2 separate regions of the Homo sapiens genome follow, and region 2 is linked to region 1. The links are contacts of gene promoters, found by promoter capture Hi-C in blood cells and fetal thymus (Javierre and others, 2016). All regions are on one chromosome and are shown on one strand. Each heading gives the region's core, a stretch centred on a gene start or on the middle of the fragment in contact. The rest is flanking DNA. Distances are from core to core; before and after follow the strand shown. Region 1 holds the start of BTBD9-AS1 (BTBD9 antisense RNA 1). Region 2 overlaps ZFAND3 (zinc finger AN1-type containing 3).

What was found. Contacts are between HindIII fragments. The CHiCAGO score rates a contact against its expected background, and 5 or more counts as called.
Region 2: a fragment that was not itself captured here is called in contact with the fragment with the promoter of BTBD9-AS1 in region 1 in 1 of 17 cell types (M2 macrophages); the score reaches 6.5 in M2 macrophages.

The regions. Positions count from the first base shown.
Region 1 is chr6:38,479,915-38,485,176 of GRCh38, forward strand. BTBD9-AS1 (BTBD9 antisense RNA 1) reads left to right here and starts at 1,682. Exons shown (of 2, transcript NR_144472.1): 1 at 1,682-1,872; 2 at 2,153-2,613. The region is part of intron 6 of BTBD9 (BTB domain containing 9); the gene reads right to left. The HindIII fragment of the contact is 1,570 bases long and covers 310-1,879 here.
Region 2 is chr6:38,137,515-38,142,466 of GRCh38, forward strand. All of the region lies in intron 5 of ZFAND3 (zinc finger AN1-type containing 3), which reads left to right. It overlaps LOC124901314 (a long non-coding RNA gene), which reads left to right. Exons shown (of 2, transcript XR_007059570.1): 1 at 1-105; 2 at 924-4,952. Among named protein-coding and RNA genes, the nearest start is that of ZFAND3, 320 kb to the left of the region's middle. RefSeq lists an enhancer at 653-1,497. The HindIII fragment of the contact is 6,946 bases long and covers 1-4,952 here.

The DNA of each region.
Region 1 (5,262 bases), core at 432-2,931:
GAAAGGGTTCCGTCATGTTGCCCAGGCTGGTCTGGAACTCCTGGGCTCAAGCGATCCTCCTGCCTCGGCCTCCCAAGGTGTGGAGATTACAGGCATGAGTCACTATGCCCAGATGAGCACTAAAATCTTTAAATAAACGCTCTTTTCTATAGACTGCTAAGAGAAATAGAAGGGAAAAAAGCAATACAATACTTAAGATTTACTGGAGAAGTACTACTGGGAATTGAGGGGAGAGTGTACTCTTTGGAAACAGATAAACGTAGCTCTGAAACCCTGCCTTGCTCCTTGCTAGCTGCATGATTCTGAGCAAGCTTCTTGATACTCAGCTTCCTCATCCATAAATACGGGGAGCAATGCACTTCCTTTGCAGGGCTCTTGTGGGCTGAGAGACAGCATGCATTCAACACTCAGAGTACCTCTCCTTTGTCGGTGCTCAATAAACAGTAGCTCATCTCTGCCATTCCTGGAGTTAAGGCAGAAGACCCACAGTACAGCACTCTGCTTAGGAGCTCTTATGAAAGTGTAGGTCAGATTGGTGCAAGTCCTGTCAAATGGGCATTGGTGGGTTACACAATCTGCTTTTAGCCTCTCATTTAAATTAAGCATGGGCCAGAACATCAAACTCTTTTCAAGAAATCAGTGCTGTAACTGGGACCCTGAGACTACCTCCATGCAAAGTAGTATATAAGTAAAAAGCTCTAATTTTGCTTGTAGCTCAGCTATAGAACACGCCAAAACCCCCCACCAAACCCACTGTTCTAAGTAATGGAAGTGTACTCTGAGAACCATCTGAAAAGAAGCCTGACAACTTGCCTGTCTTATTCCCCACCTGACCTCAATCTTTCTTCCTCTGAGTGGATGATTCCAGTGCCAGTTTTAGATCCAGTGCCTACCCAAGATTTGGCGCTTCCCAAACAGACTGTAGTGTTGGTAGACAGCATATAGCCATCACACAGGCTGACACTAAGAGATAGTGGGTATGAATGTGCGCTCTGTGCAAAATCCTCATGGGGAAGGAAGGCAACACCTGGGTACCTTTGGCAATGTAAAAATTCCCTTCTTTTAAAAATGCTCTTTAAACAAAGAGCTTTATATCTAGACTCAAAAATGCCTTTCCATCAGTATCAGCTTCTCCCAGGTAAAAGGAAGTGAAGACAGAAACAATGGAAATCCCATTGAGTAGGGAGAGGCAAAACAGAAAGGTTTATTCTAACGTGAGAGGAGCCCATGATGATGTGAAAGGGAAAGAAGAGAGAAGAATGGCATATAACCTGGAAGATTCAAGTACATTCACAGATAGATACTTTCCCAAGGTGTGCAGGAATCTAGCCCTTCTTCAAGGAGACAACCATAGCATCATATAATTCAAATTAATTCCTTTCTGAATGAGAGCTGAGTAACAAAGACAAAACTTGGCAAGATGGCACAGCACAGTGAGTGCAAAATTGTATTCCCAGTTGATACTTGGTGAGATGTTAGGTTGTCAGCTTAATGTAAAATAAAATGAGGCCGCACATCGTAAAGTGTTTTGAAAAGTAAAAATCCAAGGGAGATAGGAAGGCAGCATTTTAATGAGTCTAGAGAAAATGAATTCCAGGGTGAGCAGCTCTGCTCACGACCTCTTTTCAGTTGGTATCCCATAGGCCTCTGGGAAGCGGGGCACATGAGGGAGGGGCCAGTGCCTGCCTCCACACTACCCCCTCTCCCCTAATGAGGCTGGCAGCACCATTTGCTAGCACCTGGCAGATGAGAGAGAAAGAAAACCTGGTGTGGAGACCCCCATCCATTAAAGGCAAGAGAGTGAAAAGTGGGAGAGAAAGCTCCCAAGTTCAACAGCAGTGACCTAGGGTCATGCAGTGAGGACTTACAAAGGTATAAAAGCTTCTTTATTCAGGTGGTTCCTTTCAGCGCAACTTATTTGATGATGCTTAATGCAGGCAGTTAAAAGAACAGTTCAGTTGGATATAACTTACAGTACGTCACACAAATCTGGAGTGCCCAAGGAACATTAGTTTCAGGGAACACACTGAGATTATAACCAGCCTTTTTGCCAGGGGCAGCTTGTAACTCAGAAAGTCATGTTTCATTTAGGATGTGCTGTATAATGTTGAAGGGGAAAGTAACTATTTTGTTTTGTTGTGTTTCTTCCCAGTCCAAGAAGAAAGCATTTGGAGAAGTGCTACACATGCTCAACTGAACTTCCTGTCAAATTGTTCTCACTCGTTTGGGCACAAGTCTGCTTAAGCCATCTCTCATTAACATTTACTCTTGCCCGAAGCCCTCTACGCCCCCAACCCCTGCTAATCTTCCACAAGCAAGCTGATCACACTGGGATCTCCTTTTCCCAGACACGTTTGATTCTCACTTTCTCCTGAACCTAGAAATGTGCTTCCCACCAAAGCATGCCAGGCACTAACTCGTCCCTACTGAAAGGGGCTGTTAAAAGCTCATCTTCTTTCCAGATGGTAGTGAGGTGTGAGGTGATCCTTTCTCTTTCTTTTTTTTTTTTTTTTACTTTTAGCTACCCCTCAATTCTGGTGTTCAGTAACAATGTATTCCACTTAAAAGAGAGAAATCATATTAATTATTCTAAGATATAAACACTTAATTTTATTCATGCTCTTGAATTACTTTCCTTTCTACCGCATGTTTGTGTAGCTGTTATATGAGTCCTTTCTACTGATGTAGCTGTCATTCCTTCAACTCAGTTCTTGCCAAACACTGAGCTATGTCTGGAGATACAAAGATAACTACTCTTGTTGAAGAGATGCCAGTTTAGTGGGGGAGACAGACATGTAAACAGATCTGTATCTGAGATAGATGGCCTGGGTAGGAAAAGAATATATATAGCACAAATAACTCAGTGGACCTGCAAAAACAGAGCTTGAGGCCATGATATACCACAAAGACCCACCAAGGCACAAGCACTGTCAACATGAAGGTAAGGCTTCCATTTTTGCCTCTTTCAATCTGGGTACATCTATTCTACATACTCTGCCTTTCCTCCTGTTACAGGAAAAGAAGGAACCTCAATTCTACCTAAAGTCAATCTTCTCCTTGAGCTAGAGATCCAGCCCCTCTCCCATAATGAGGTACACGGCCCCTACAAAGATCCACTCTCCTGCATTATCAAATCCTCCCTCCCTGTGGTATCATTCCAGTCCACACACACACATACCTTAACATCATCCTCCCTTGACCCTAGGTCCCCCTCCATCCTCTTCATCATTTCTCTGCTTCCCCTCCCAGTGATACTTTATCTTCTACATGTATTGCTACCCCTATTCCCTCAGCCTCTATTCCCTTCTCCCTTGACTCCACTGAAATGGCTCTTAAAGGACGCCACTAAGCTCTATCTTGCTACAACCAGGAGTCGATTTTCTGTTACCTACTGCCCTCTCCCATCTCCCCTCCTCATACCGAAAGACTGACTTTTTAAGACTTCCATGAAAATGTTGTCCTTGTTTTCTTCCTGCCTCACTGGCAGCTCCTTCCCAGTCTCTTGTATTCACTTTTCCTTGCCCACCTGCTGTCTGGTCTTCCCTATAGTCCATTCTCACACTAGATCACACTAGAGTTATCTTTCAAAAATCTCAACTACCATCACCTGGTTTAAACCCTTCTATGGTTTCCCATCATCCTTAGAATTCGACACTATCAAGTCCCTGTAGGACATGGCTCCTGTCTATCTGTCTGCCCTCATTGCTAAACATACCTTCCTCCCAACACCCTACAGACTATCTACCCACCAGATTTCAGAAACACATGGCCTTCTTTCTGTTCCTCAAAAACCCCAAGCTAGTTTCTACTTCACAGCCTTTACTCTTGCTGTTCCCTAGCCTGGAACACTTCTCCCTTAGATTGCTGCATAGCCAAGCCAACTTCTTGTAATTCAAGTTTTGGCTCAACTCACTTCCTCAGAAAGGCCTTCCCTGACCGTTCTGCTCAAGTGCTCCTTCCCCAAACTCAACCACTGGCTAGCTTATTCCCCCATTCCAATTTTGTCAAACTATGACTAGTCAGTATCACATTTATTTCTTTACATCTCATTTTTCTCTCTCTCCTACTACAATGTAAACTGCGTTAAGCAACAACTTAATCTCGTTTACTGCTATATGTCTACTTCCAGGCACAGTGTTTAGTATATTGTGGGTGCTCCGTAAACATTTTACTCAATGGATAAATGAAATGACGATGAAATCCTTGTTTAGAATCCTGTGTTCAGCTCTTTGCTCTTCAACTGTAGACATGCACAGAAGCATAAAGGTGAGACATAATAACTAGTGCACAGGGAAATCAGACCTATGAAACTAGAACTAGAATTACTAAGGAAGTGTTATATTTTTATTCTTCAGGGGTAATCATTAGTTGTTTTTTAAATGTCTAATGAGGATTAAATAAAAAGAAATGGATTAAAGGTTCAGCAGATGGGCAAAAGTTCTAGAGTAGATAAAATGTGGGTTAGATTTATAAAAACACTTCCTGGGACTGACTACTATTTGAGATTATAATCAGTTCCTGAAGAAGAATACTGGATATCTTTTTAAAACAAAAAGAGATAACAGTAATCCTTTATCAACTGAGTGCTTCCTTTGTACCAAGACCTCTGCTAAGGCTGTTTTACAAGCCTGATCTCCTTTGACATTTGTAGCAACCCTATGAGACAGGTACAGGGATAGCTGGGAGATGTCATGGGTTCAGTTTATGACCACACAATAAAGCAAGCCACACAAATCTTTTGGTTTCTCAGTGCATATAAAAATTACGTTTACACTGTATGGTAGCCTATTAAGTGTGCAACAGCATTATGTCCAAAAAAAGTACAGATTATTAATTAAAACATACTTTATTGCTAAAAAATGTTAACAATCATCTGAGTCTCAAGTGAGTCATAACCTTTTTGCTGGTGGAGGATCACGCCTCAATGTTGATAGCTGCTGACTGATCAGGGTGGTGGTTGCTGAAGGCTGGGGTGGCTGTGACAATTTCTTAAAGTAAGACAATGATGAAGTCTGCTGCATCTATTGACTCTTCTTTCATGAAAGATTTATCTGTAGCATACGATGCTGTTTGACAGCATTTTTACCAATAGTAGACCTTCTTTCAAAATTGAGGTCAATCCTCTCAAACCCTACTACTGCTTTATCAACTAAGTTTGTGTGACAGCCTAAATCTTTTGTTCTAGAATCTACCATTTCAACAATATTCACTGCATCTTCACCAGGAGTAGATTCTATCTCAAGAATTCTATCTTCACTTTCT
Region 2 (4,952 bases), core at 1,827-4,326, 340 kb before region 1:
GTTGTAGAGGAAGAGCAAGGGGTAAAACTGACAAAAGTCCCTGACCTCTTGGTGCTTTTATTCTTTAGGGGAGAGATGCAGTAAGCAAGGGAACAGATAAACAAGGTAATTTCTGATGGGAGCAGGAGATATGATGTAATAAAATGACAGTGTGATAAGGGAAAGGGGGAGCTGCAAATAGGGAAGGGGGAGGCCAGCACCTGGGAGGACATGAAAGCTGAGCTGAACATAAAAGCTGGGAGAGCCAGCCATTCAGAGAGTTGGGAGAGCAGTGCCCTAGACAGAACAAAGGCCCTGGAGGGAGGAACAAACTTGGTGTATCTGAGGAAGAGAAAGCTGGCCAGCCCGGCCAGAGCACAGTGCGTTGCGGGAGGAGAGTGGAGACGCAGCAGGGATCAGTCGGGGGCTTGCATGTCTTTGCAAAGAATCTGATTATTGTAAACATAGTGAGAAGGCATTGAATGGTTTTAAGCAAAGGAGTGATCTGACTTAAATTTTAAAAATATTCCCCTGGAGAGCCAGGCACGGTAACTCACAGCTGTAATCTTAGCACTGGGGACGCGGAGGTGGGAGTATCAGTTGAGCTCAGGAGTTGGAGACCAACCTGGGCAACATAGTGAGACCTTGTCTCTATTAAAGAAAGAAAAAAAAAAGAAAAATATATTTCTCTGGGAGAGAAACACATGCTTGTGTATGCACAGATGCATGGACTCTCAAGAATACATAAAAATAGACAGTGGTGGTGGTTGCTGGGCTTCTGGAGAGGGTAACAGAATGAGATGGGAGACTTACTTTCTGCTAAATATCATTTTATACAATTTGAATTTTTATTATATTCATGTACTACCTTTAAATAGGCAAAGTAAGAATGAACAAATACAAAACAAGTACATCTCAGGTCAATTTTTTTTTTTTAAATCCAGAAGTTCCCTCCAACTGCTGGGAGGGGGACGGCTTGGAGGGCAGCAAAGGCAGAAGCAGGCAACACGCCTGAGCTCTAGCAGCCTGGTGGAGCCATCGGCCTCACCGCATTCCAGCCCTGCTGGCTGCCTTTCTCTTCCATCAGTATGCTGAGCTTATTCCTGCCACAGGACATTTGCATGAGAAGAGGTGCAGAGCCGATTCAGGACATCATTTAGATCTAACTAGACCTCTAATAAAGTCAGTGTGAGGAGTAAGGAAAAGAGAGGAATCAAGAATTGAGCCCACAGTTTGACTTGAACAGCAGCTGGGTGGATATATTGCCACTCACACTGAGGCAGAGAAGATGAGGAGATAAACTAACAGAGGTCAAGAAGATGAAGAGTTGTTTCAAACATGGTACAGTTGAGATTCCTAGCATTATTCTAGTCAGACGTGTTTGTCAAGTAGGCCATTGGATATCGGGATTTGGATTTGAGGGGAATTCATAGATGGAAATATAAGTTCAAGAGGCATCAGCATGGATACCCTATTTGGATCTGGATGAAATTACCTAAAGGAGAAAATGCAGGAGGACGTGATGCTGGGTGATTTTAGAGGAGAAACCATGAAGGATTCCAAGGAGCAGCAGTTGGTCAGGTGGGAAGAAAGGAGTGTGACATCACAGAAGATGAAAAATAAAAGTATTTTAAGAAACAGAAAAGTGGACAAATGCTGTAGAGGTTGAGGTGAGGATATTGGATTTCGCCCCTTGAATACCTGATTGGCCTTTGCTTGCTCCCTAGGGTTCAGAGAACACAGTCTTTCTATACCTAACCTATCATTCATTTACCTGACCAAAATATTTTGAGTGAACCAAGCAGTATTTTAGGGATAGAGGATATGTGATAAATTACAGAAGCATGGTGCTTGATTTTATGAAATCTAGCCAAGGAGACAAATTAAATGAACAAATTCCACAAATGACGCTAAATTAAAATTGTGACTAGTGATTGAAGGAAAAGTTCAAGATGCCTTGAAAGCATCCAACTGGGCCCTAACCTAGTCTGAGGGTCCAGGAAGATCTTCCTGAGGAAGTCATTGAAGCTAAGGCCTGAGTAAGCAAGAATTTCCTTTGGAAGTCAGTGTGTCTGGGACATAGAATGCAAGGGAGTAAATGGCACAAGGGGAAGCGGCAGCCAGGGTTGAGATCGTGCTTCAGTGGGGAAATTTTTATTGTAATCAGTGGAGCACGGTAATCACAGACAGGGCTGGATCTCATCATCTCATCATGTTGGCTGCCCTGAGGAAGGTGGCTTTGATGTGGGGCGACCACCTAAAGGAAGCTGTTGCAGTAGCCTCGGAAAAAAGTTACTGGTCTCTTTGACTAGGTGGTGGCTTATGACGCTGGCTGCTCTGAGGAAGGTGGATTTGATATGGGGCGACCACCTAAAGGAGGCTATTGCAGTAGCCCTGGAAAAAAAGATTCTGGCGGCTTTGACTAGGTGGTGGCAGTAGAGATGGCAAGAAGTGAATGGATTTGATTTTTGGAAATCGTATCCACAAGACTCGGTAATTGAATGTGAAGAGTAAGTAAGGTATCAGTGATGACTCCAGGTTTGTGTCATGAGCCACTGGCTGCATGGTGGCCCTATTCTCTTAGAATGGGAGACATTGAAGAAGAAGCAGATTTGTGAGGAAGTAGCAAGTGTCCTATGTTAGACATCTCAAGTCTGAAATACCTGAGATGCCAAGTAGATAATTGAATACACAGATATGGAGCTCCAAAGAGAGGTCTGGGGCAGAGAGATAAATTTCAGAATTGTTAGCATACATAGTTAGAATTTTAACCTTGAAGAAGAGTGTGAAGAGTGTAGGATTAAGACAAAAAGAAGGTCCAGCACTGAATAATGCTAATATTTCAAGGATAGCAGATGAAGAGCTATCAGAGAAAGAGAAGGAAAACAAGGTAAGCAGATGTCACAGAGCCCACAGGAGTAGTCAGCTTTCTAGAGGTTCTAAGTGATAATTGAAAAGGGTCATTAGATTTAGTGATTTTCAGGCTCCATTCGTAGGGTGTTTTGTTTTGTTTTGAGACAGGGTCTTGGTCTTTTGCCCAGGCTAGAGTGCAGTGGCTCAATAATGGCTCACTGCAGCCTTGACCTCCTGGTTGCAAGTGATCCTCCTGCCTCAGCCCCACAAAATGCTGGGCTTACAGACATGAGCCACCATGCCCAGCTGTTCATGGGGTGTTTTTTTATACCCAAATTGTAACCATTAGGTGAAGTCATCATATCTGAGCCCCCTCTCCTACACCCCCAAGTGAAATGGAACTGGGCTATGTGGTTATTAATACCTTCCACACAGGAGATTTGTAGAGTCCTTTAGTGGGCTATCCATTCAGTAGGGCTTTCACTATAGTGTGTAGTCTGACTTCAGATTTGAACTCATGTCTGCAGAAAATATTTTTCTATACTGAATAAGCCTCTTCCCCTTCAGGGCAGGTGTTTTTAAATAAACTAACTTTAAACATGGAGAATCAAGAAGCCAGCTTCTCTGCCCGCCCCCACCCCCACCCACACCACACAGTCTTATAACAGTGGACAGCAGACATTGTAGGACTTCTGACCTTGCAGTTCAGATTTTGTGGAAACGGGGCAAAAGCATGCTTGTACTTCTAAGCTCCTCGGAATGACCTTTTTGAGTTATCGTGGTGAAAACAAGAAGCCCTTAGAGAAACTTCATTCTTAAAACAAGCACATAAAACAAGTGCATGTGATGCTGGCACAGTTTGGGTGAAAACATAGATTGTTTGCAGAATGTCTACAGCCCATTCCTTTCTCCTGCTCTTCCTTTCACTACAGCTCCCAGCCTGACAGTCTTGGGGAAATAGACATGAGGCTTTTCAACAAACAATCAGTACGTGACCAAACTTGGCAACACATGCTCTGCCTCTGTTTGTGACAGAGGCTTGCAGAATACTCAGCTGTACCTGTAGAGGAGCTCCTCTCTGATGTCCTTGGAAAGTTTCCGTGTCCCTTTCATGGTGTCCCTAACCACTGAGTACTTTCCAGGCTGCACTATATAGTCTTTGTATATTTAATTCAGATTTCTCTGAAATTTGCATATCTTCAGAAATTTTTACTTAGCTTGTCACTTAGCATGCATTTATAGTCTGTAAAGACAGGCTTGTGGAGGGGGAGAGAGGAAACTTGTACATCATATGTTCAGAGGAAGATTTCCACATTCGTTCTCTTTTGTCGGCAGTGACTTCTCAAAGGAGAATGGAACCAGAATCTAGATGGGGAGGTAAAAGCAAGTGGGGCAGAAAAAATGTTGTGTGAATGGAGGAGGAAGGAACAGACATGATGGGGGAAGGGGGTCAGAGTCATAATGCCAAGCATGTCAGCTGCACCGTGTAGGGCAAAATGGCAAAAGGGATGACCCCACCCCGAAGAATCATCCCAGGACCAACCAGCCTTCCTTGAGCACATGCCGGGTGCTTCACAGGCACGGTTTTCATTTATGCCCGTAACAGCCCCATCTTAGAGCAGACACAGCGGAGGTTCTTCAAGGTTAAATGGCCTGAGCCACATAACTGTCAAAACAGGGCAGCAGGAACCTGAATTCAGTACTTGGGTCTAAAGCTCACACTCCATGCTGTATTATCCTGAAAGAGAATGTGTAGTTCAGCTGTTAAGGGACTTGCTGTGGAAGCAGGGTTGAAACTAAGTTACAGGTCTCTCCCTACCCCAGTTTCTCATCTTCATACTCCCTGTGATCCCAGTGTGTTGATTGAAAGGTCAGTTGGGAAAGATGGGGAAAATGTTCCTTTCTTTTCCAGGTGTTTCTCTGGAGAGAGATGTGTGGCATTTATAGTCTGATGCCCCCTGACCACGTTGCCACTCGGACATTCTGTGACTTGGATGAACTGACTCTTGCCTGCAAAGGTGCCTTCAGGGAGGCTAAACAGGCCACAGCTCCCTGGTGAGCCATGTGTCAGGAGCCTGGCAACTGAGTTACCCCCATGGGCCCAGGCTGTGTCTTCAGCA